Linked DNA regions of Homo sapiens: regions 1 and 3 are each linked to region 2. The links are contacts of gene promoters, found by promoter capture Hi-C in human tissues and cell types (Jung and others, 2019). All regions are on one chromosome and are shown on one strand. Each heading gives the region's core, a stretch centred on a gene start or on the middle of the fragment in contact. The rest is flanking DNA. Distances are from core to core; before and after follow the strand shown.

What was found. Contacts are between HindIII fragments. The study calls those that stand out against the background at their distance.
Region 1: a fragment that was not itself captured here is called in contact with the fragment with the promoter of CST9 in region 2 in 2 of the 25 tissues and cell types used here (bladder and dorsolateral prefrontal cortex).
Region 3: a fragment that was not itself captured here is called in contact with the fragment with the promoter of CST9 in region 2 in 2 of the 25 tissues and cell types used here (mesendoderm cells and thymus).

The regions. Positions count from the first base shown.
Region 1 is chr20:23,382,771-23,385,473 of GRCh38, reverse strand. All of the region lies in intron 7 of NAPB (NSF attachment protein beta), which reads left to right. Among named protein-coding and RNA genes, the nearest start is that of GZF1, 22 kb to the right of the region's middle. The HindIII fragment of the contact is 8,963 bases long and covers 1-2,703 here.
Region 2 is chr20:23,604,207-23,607,280 of GRCh38, reverse strand. It overlaps CST9 (cystatin 9), which reads left to right and starts at 1,364. Exons shown (of 2, transcript NM_001008693.3): 1 at 1,364-1,671. The coding sequence starts at 1,417. The HindIII fragment of the contact is 5,555 bases long and covers 1-3,074 here.
Region 3 is chr20:23,465,206-23,468,093 of GRCh38, reverse strand. No RefSeq gene overlaps it. Among named protein-coding and RNA genes, the nearest start is that of CST11, 14 kb to the right of the region's middle. The HindIII fragment of the contact is 8,919 bases long and covers 1-2,888 here.

The sequences.
Region 1 (2,703 bases), core at 22-2,521, 220 kb after region 2:
ATTTTCTTTCTAATTCTATCCATTGTTGAGAGTTGGGTGTTAAAATCTCCAACTTTAGTTGTGGATTTGTCTGACTCTTCTTTCATTGTGTCAGTCTTTGCGTCACATACTTTGCAGCTCTGGATTGCTATTCTTGCTGGAGAGACCCTTTTATCATTACATAATGTCCTTCTCTGTCTCTGGTAATTTTCTTGGCTCAAGTCTACTTTATCCACTTTATAGCCCTGCCTGGTTTCTTTTGATTAATGTTTATATGATATGTTTGTCCATTCTTTTTCTTTCAGCCTGTCTATATCATTATAACTGAAGTGAGTTTCTTGTAGTTGGATCTTGTTTTTTTTTGTTTGTTTGTTTTGAGACAGAGTCTTGCTCTGTCTCCTACACTGGAGCGCAGTGGAGTGATTTTGGCTCACTGCAACCTCTACCTCTTGGATTCAAGTAATTCTCCTGCCTCAGCCTCCCGAGTAGCTGAGATTACAGGTGCGTGCCAGCATGCCCGGCTAATTTTTGTATTTTTAGTAGAGACAGGATTTCACCATGTTGGCCAGGCTGGTTTCATACTCCTGACCTCGGTGATACACCCGCCTTGGCCTCCCAAAGTGCTGGGATTGCAGGCATGATCCACCACAGCCAGCCTGGATCCTGTTTTTTAATCCACTGTGCCAATCTTTGTTTTTCAATTGGTGTATTTAGGTCATTCACATTTAATGCAGTTATTTATATGTTAGGGCTTAATTCTGCTTTCTGCCATTTTAGTTTTTGCTTTCTATTCTTTGCTTTTTGTTTCTCTGTTTTCTTTTTCCAACCTTTTTATGGGTTGCTTTTCTTTTTTTTCTTTCTTTCTTTTTTTTTGAGACTGGGTCTCACTCTGTCACCCAGGCTGGAGGGAAATGGTGCGACCCTGGCTCACTGCAGCCTCCACCTCCCAACCTCAAGCAGTCCTCCCACCTCAGCCTTAGCCTCCAGAATAGCTGAGACTACAGACATGCACCACCACACCTGGCTATTTTTTGTAGCGATGGGGTTTTGCCATGTTGTCCAGGCTGGTCTTGAACTCCTGAGCTCAAGTCTTTTTGTAGCGATGGGGTTTTGCCATGTTGCCCAGGCTGGTCTTGAGCTCCTGAGCTCAAGTCATCTGCCCACCTCGGTCCCCCAAAGTGCCAGGATTATAGGTGTGAGCCACCACACCCAGCCTACTTGATTTTCCAGTGTTTCTAAGTACAGTTATTCCTCAGTGTCTACAGGGGATTAGTTCCAGGACCTCTCTCATATATCAAAATCTGTGCATAGTCAAGTCCCACAGTCGGCCCTGTGGAACTCACATATAAAAAAGTCTGCCTTTCATTTATATGGGTGTTGAATTCCTAAGAATACTGTATTTTCAATCCACATTTGGTTGAAAAAAATCCGTATATAAGTGGATTCACACAGTTTAAACCAGTGTTGTTGGAGAATCAATGGTATATATCTTTGTGTAGCTTTTGTGGTTAAATGCTGTAGGTTGGTGTCATCATTTTATAAGTTCTGGTGAAATATAGAAATCTTACCTCCCTTTCTGTTCTTTTACTCCCCCTATTCAATATATAGTTGTCTTAATGTTTCCTCTGCATACATTTAGAACCACATGAGTCAATGTTAGAATTTTTGTTTCAGCCATCAAACATAATTTAGAAAACTCAAGAAAGAAAGCCTGTTATATTTACCCATATTTTTGCTTACCATGTTCTTTCTTCTGGATGTTCCAAGATTATTGTTTCCTTTCTATTTAGAGAACCTCCTTTTGTCATTTTTTTAGGGTAGGTCTGCTGACAACAAATTTTCTTAGTTTTCCCCTATCTGGAAACGTTTTGATTTTGCCTTCATTTCTGAAACATAGTTTTCCTGGGAGTATAATTCTAAGTTGATTGTTCTTTTCCTTTAGTTTCAAAAATGTGCACTTTATGGCTTCCATGGTTTTACAAACTTCTGACATCAAGTGATCCACCCACCTCAGCCTCCCAAAGTGCTGGGATTACAGGCATGAGCCACAACGCCTAGTCGGCCTCCATTGTTTTTGATAAGAAGTCTGCTGTCATTCAACTTGTTTTCCCCTATAAAAAAGGTGTTATTCTCTAGACACTTTCATAATTTTTTTCTTTTAGTTTCAAAAGTTTAATTATAATGTGGCTTGGATAGATATATTTGGTTTTAAGCTATTTGAGTTTCCCTAAACTTACAGAATCTGTAGGTTTATGTTTCTTGTCAAATTTGAGAATCATTTAGCAGTTATTTCTTCAAGTACTTTTTCAGCTTCCTTTTTTTTTTTTTTTTTTTTTTTGAGACCGAGTCTTGCTCTGTCGCCCAGGCGTGCCAGTTTAATGGCGCAATCTTGTCTCACTGCAACCTTTGCCTCCCAGGTTCAAGCAATTCTCCTGTCTCAGCCTCCCAAGTAGCTGGGACTACAGGTGCTTGCCACCACACCTGGCTAATTTTTGTATTTTTAGTACAGACAAGGTTTCGCCATGTTGACCAGGCTGGTCTTGAACTCTTGACCTCAAGTGGTTCGCCTGCCTTGGCCTCCCACAGTGCTGGGATTACAGGCGTGAGCCACCATGCCCAGCCAGCCCTTTTCTCTTTCTCCTCCCCTTCTAGAACACAGATGCCACAAAAGTGAGACTGTTTTATTATCCCATGGGTCCTTGATGCTCTGTTCCTTTTTGTCAG
Region 2 (3,074 bases), core at 115-2,614:
CAAACTCTTATTCTTTATCACCAGGCATGCTGTCTAAGCCTGTCCCCCATCCTGTGTGCCCCACAAAAGCCATTCTCATCCCCTGACCTCCATGCCCCTCAAGCTGAGTTACTTCTCATATGTGGTTTGGTCTGTATGCACTTCCCAGGAAGTATTCTGAACCTGCACCACTCAAAGTATGGTTCTGAGACCGGGAACACAACCATCCTCTGGAAGCTGGTGAGAAATGTAGTTTCCCTGGCCCTGCTCACAGCTACTGGGTCAGAATCTTTGGGTGGGGAAACTAGGAACTTGCTTTTTAACGTGACATCAGGGGATGCTGGTTGCTTCTGAAGTTTACAAGGAGCTACGGATAAACATCAAAGGCATATTTCACAGGGACAAAGCTTAAGTCTGGTCTGTGAAGAGTGCATTATTCAGTCTTTTGAGAGCCCCATTTGCGGTTGGAGTTGGAGGCTATGTGGGTCTTGGTCGAGAACTCAGAATCTCCACCCACAAACTGTGCCGCAGAGTGCTGTGCCGGCTGTGGCCACAGGAGGGAACCCGTGACAACCTAATGGGTGCACTTCAGCCATCCCTGAGGGCATCTTCGTCTTTCTGGTTCTCCACTGCTCCAATTGCAAGCGGCCACCCGTCCTGGAAACACCTTTGAGGAATAGGGGCAGCCATAACTAGCCAGGCCCCTAGTACCAGCACTTGGCAGCGCGTCCCTGGGCTGGGAAGCTGCATTTAGGGAGGTGCAGAGAACAGGGTTGGGGGCTCCTGCTCTTGATTTCCTCAACCTCTGCCCACGACCCCCAGGCTGGTGCCCCCCTCCCGAGACCCTCGGGGGAGCAGACACCTGCAGGACATCCCGCCAATCCTCCCGGGCTCCCCGCCTCTCTCTCAAGAGGCCCAGTGCTTTCTCGGGGCGCTGTACCTGCTCACCCATGATACTAGCATCCACTGTCATCCCTTTCCATCCTTTTGTCTCTGCCTTTCCACCTAACCTCCCCCTCCCAGCCCACCCCCACTGCTGAGTCCAGGGCTCACCTTCCACTCATACCTCTCACACTTGTGTTCCTGTGCCGGGCTCTGACTCTGGGGCGCCCAGTAGAGGTCTCCTTTAGCCTGCGGAGGTGCTGGGGCAGCTGGGGCTGGGCCTCATGTTCAGGGCACTATCTCTCCCATTGCTAGTCTTTTCCAACCCACCTGCCTGGGTGCTGTTCCTCTCCCCTAAACAGGAGATGATTTAAACGCCTTTGGAAGAAGGGAGGCCATGTGTGGGAGAGACAGGGTGTAACTGCAGAGGTGAGGCCTGGAGGGAGGAGTTTCTGCCCCAGCAGGTGAATTTAAAGGCCAGACCTGAGCCCTGGAAGGCTCCAGTGGACGCCAGGGATCTGAAGGGCAAAGGCAAGGGCTGCTGGAGCCTGCATCATGTCGAGTCCGCAGAGGAGGAAGGCTATGCCCTGGGCACTGTCACTGCTTCTCATGGGCTTCCAGCTCCTGGTGACTTATGCCTGGTGTTCTGAAGAGGAAATGGGTGGTAATAATAAAATAGTCCAGGATCCTATGTTCCTCGCCACAGTGGAGTTTGCCTTGAACACTTTCAACGTGCAGAGCAAGGAGGAGCATGCCTACAGGCTGTTGCGCGTCCTGAGTTCATGGAGGGAGGATAGCATGGACAGAAAGGTTGGTGACCACATCCTCTTCTGGCCTGTCCTTCTCCATCTGCCCCTAAGTGAGGGACCAAGATGTCTAGTCTAGGAGACTTGGTTCACCATCAGCAGTCCATAGTCAGGTAGTCCACAACCAATTACGGTAGTTTTAGTTTTGGAAAACATTGAACTTAAAATTTTTTTTAAATTAGGTAAATGTCTATTCACATGCAAAATATATTTTTCAATCTTCATGATTTTTAAGACATTGTATAACTGAAGAGTGACTTCAAAATAAGGACTTCTAAGGAGATGAAGCTGACAAGAAGAGAAAATAACCAAAGAGACTGATAAACATTTCCAGGTCATAAAATGAAAATGGAAAAGCAAGGACACACAGAGGGAGAGAGAGAGAGAGACAGAGAGAGACAGACAGACAGAGAGAGAGAGACAGAGAGAGAGAGAGACAGGCAGACAGAGAGAGAACAGTGAGAATTCGAGGGCAATAAAGAACACCATCAGCCCTGAGAGGCCACCGTGAAAGGTTAGTTCTCTGATCTCCACCTTCTCTGGGCTCCTTGCTCTGTCTGCACTTAATGAACTGAAGGCCAATTTACACTCTTCCTCAATGGACCTTTATCCTAAAATGCTTGCCTTTTTGATGAAATCATTAAATGTGGTCAGGAATGCACAGTTCATCTGGGCTTCAGGCATGAACAATTAAAATGCCCTCCTAGTGGAGAACTTCTGGTTTAGAGAGAGAAGGAGCATTGCTCTTCCTTTCTCAGCACCAAGAGCCTGAAAGAAAGGCAGAGGGACTCTAGTACCGCACAGAGCTTAAGCTCTGGAAAGACTCTGTGCAAGGCTCTGGCTGGTTCTCTGCCTCCTGGGGTGGATTCCTCACTGCCATCCTCAGGATTCCAATGCTGGTACAGAGGAATTTTCCTCCTTGCTCATTTGCTGCCTCCTCTCAGGAGAATTAAAAGCCTGATGCAACCCTCAGAGGGGCATCTGGTCCAGTAATGGTGGCTGCTAATATTCATGCTGGAACCTTGGAAGTCTCAGAGATTGAGATTGGCCAGGCCTCATGCTTCTGCTTTCCCAGTGCTTTGCTTGATTCTCCAAGACCTCAGTGTAAGCCTCCATTCTTAATACCGTTAGAATAAAATCTAAGCTCCTTACTATGGTCTATAAGTCCTAAATGACAGTAAGTCCTAAAAGCTTTCCACATGGCTTCCTGGATATGGCAATCCCAGCATCAGTTTGGGGGCTGGGAAGAATAGATGGGTGAGAGGGAGGCTATGGAGTGGAATTAAATAGAATGGAGTGGGAAGGAGGGCAAGGAGAACTTCAGCATGCACTTTGCAATAGGGCAGATGGTATTTCTTGAACCCATTTTCCCAGGGTGTGTGCCTGTGTGTAGTGGGAGCGCTGTGT
Region 3 (2,888 bases), core at 105-2,604, 140 kb after region 2:
GAATCATCTGACTTGAAATAGTAACATTCTTTAACAGTCCCATTCCAAAAGGAGAACCTGGTCCATACTGATTTATAGCTTGTTTTATTTCTTTGAGTAATTTAAAAAGAAAAGGCTCAAATGTAGCTGTAATATTTCCCTGTTGATCTGGGGGGTGTATTCTAACAGGGAACTGCCAAGCCTCTAAATCACCCTCTCGTCTAGCTTGCTGAATTCCTGCCTGAATAGAACTAAGACTGGTTGCTCGAGGCACTGCTCAAACAGTCACTGGGGCAACTACTTTTCACCCAGTGTCCTCCAGAAAAGAAAGATCTGGGGGTTCATTTTCTTCAAAATAATAAGGAGGGGGTGCAGAAGGGTAGGGATGAAACTTTCCTTCCTTTGCCGCTTTAGCTGGCAAATAAACATGCTCTGTAACCTCTTCTGTTACTTCACTATACTCTTGTTCTCCTCATTATCAGTGTGAAAAAGTTCCAAGGTGAAAGGAACCAGACCCCACACTGTCCCACCGTTACCCTGATGCTTCTGAGCTCCCCTTCTTACTCACCATGGGGATTGCTTTAAGAGTACTCGGGTGTCCTCCAGCTAGTTTTCCATTCCAACGGTTGCTCTGGCAACCCTTCGATCCGGATTCGAGTCCCACATTGGGTGCCACTTGCTGAGACCAGCTTGGTCGGGGAGACCCTAACCCTGCGGCGCTAGAGGAATTAAAGACACACACACAGAAATATAGAGGTGTGAAGCGGGAAATCAGGGGTCTCACAGCCTTCAGAGCTGAGAGCCACAAACAGAGATTTACCCACATATTTATTAACAGCAAACCAGTCATTAGCATTATTTCTATAGACATTAAATTAACTAAGAGTATCCCTTATGGGAAACAAAGGGATGGGCCGAATTAAAGGAATAGGGTGGGCTAGTTAACTGCAGCAGGAACACACCCTTAAGAAACAGATCACTCATGCTATTATTTGTGGCTTAAGAATGCCTTTAAGTGGTTTTCCACCCTGGGTGGGCCAGGTGTTCCTTGCCCTAATTCCTGTAAACCCACAACCTTCCAGCTCGGGCATTAGGGCCATTATGAACATGTTACAGTGCTGCAGAGATTTTGTTTATGGCCAGTTTTGGGGCCAGTTTATGGACAGATTTTGGGGGGCCTGCTCCCAACATACCACTGCAAAGATGGTGAGGAAACCTTAGGGCACTATTACCCCTTTGTCCACTTCTACCTTGTATGTTATTGTTGTCATGTACTTAAATTCTACATATTTGATAGCCTGTAAAACAATATTACAGTGGTTTTATACGTTTAATATTCATGGGGATTTATCAATTATATTTACCCTTCTTCTGTGCACCATTCCTTCAACATTACTTTGCTTCCACCTGGGATCATTCTCCCTTACCTCCAAAGAACTCATTTTAGTGTTTATTTTTTATTGGATCTTGTTGGTGTATCATTTAGCTTTTTCCAAAAGCTGACTTTTCTCTAAACAATTTAACTTCTCTGGGACCCCCTATCCTAGGGGTTCAGCCAAATCTCCATCTTCTCTCTTCTGGGTGTCCCCAAAATACTGCTAACACATGGGTTTAAGACTATAAATTTCCCTCTAAGCCCTTTTATGGCAACATCTCAGAAATGTTGATATGTCATATGGTTATTATCTTTCAATTCAAAATCCATGAATTATTTTTAAATTTATTGTTTGATTTTTTTATTGTTAAATTTACAGACAGCTAGAGTTATTAAAATTATTTTTAGCTATTTTTATTATAGTTGTTTACTGTGAACAAAGAACACACTCTGAAACATTTTCATCTTTAAAATTTTTGAGTTTTTTTTCTTTTTGATGTTCTGAAAATGTCTTTATTTTGCTTTCATTTTTGAGGAGTATCTTTACTGACTATGGAATTCTAGATTGTTCATTATTTTCTTTCAGTTCAAAGATTCAAATCTGGGCTTCTGCAAATGGTCTATTTCCAGTTCACTTTTACTCCTAGGATGTGGCCTCTCATGGTTTCACCTGAAACCCTTGGATATTTACCATAGTCTTCTTCCTTATCAGGCACTGAACTTTAATTTTTGTCCCCTCAATTGAAGCAGAGAAAATGCATTTTCCCAAGCAGCGTTGAAAGTCAAGATCTTTCATCCCCTTTCTGCCCCTGGTGCCCTCCACTCTAGGTCTTGCTCCAAGTCAGGCAGTTTCCTACATCAAGGCAAGTGTCTATTACCACAGTGTCTCTCCAAAGGGCAGTGAGTAGCATCTGCAACTGAGTCCTCACAATGGAGACCATGCTGGGCCCCCAGGCTGAAGGATTTAAGCATCAAAAAGCTGGTAGGGACATGCTGAGTTGAGCTGCTGCTTCTGCAATCATCTGCAGTCTTGGCAAAGTTTTTCTTATTAACCGAGAAGTTGGTCAGGCCCTTAGGGACAGGCTCATATACCTAGAGGACCTTTTGGAGACTCATGGGCAGAGCGGAGAGCTGCCTGATCAGGGCTCCTGCCCTGGAGCTTCTGCAACCCTCCCTTGGGATTCCTTCATTACCAAAGGTGCAAAATCAGAGGCTTGGAATTGAGCATATATCCACACACTCGTGTTCACAGCAGCATTATCCACAATAGCTGGGAGGTGGAAGCAGCCCAAGTGTCCATGGAAGAATGAGTGAATAAAAAAAATGTGGCATTTCCATACAATGGAATATTATTCAGCCATAAAAAAGGAAAAAACGGTTACATGTTACAACATGGGTGAACCTTGAGGATGTTATACTAAGTGAAATAAGCCAGTAACAAAAGACAAACACTATATGATTCCACTCACATGAGATATCTAGACTAATCAAATTCACAGAGACAGAAAGTAGACTAGGGGTTACCAGGGGCTGG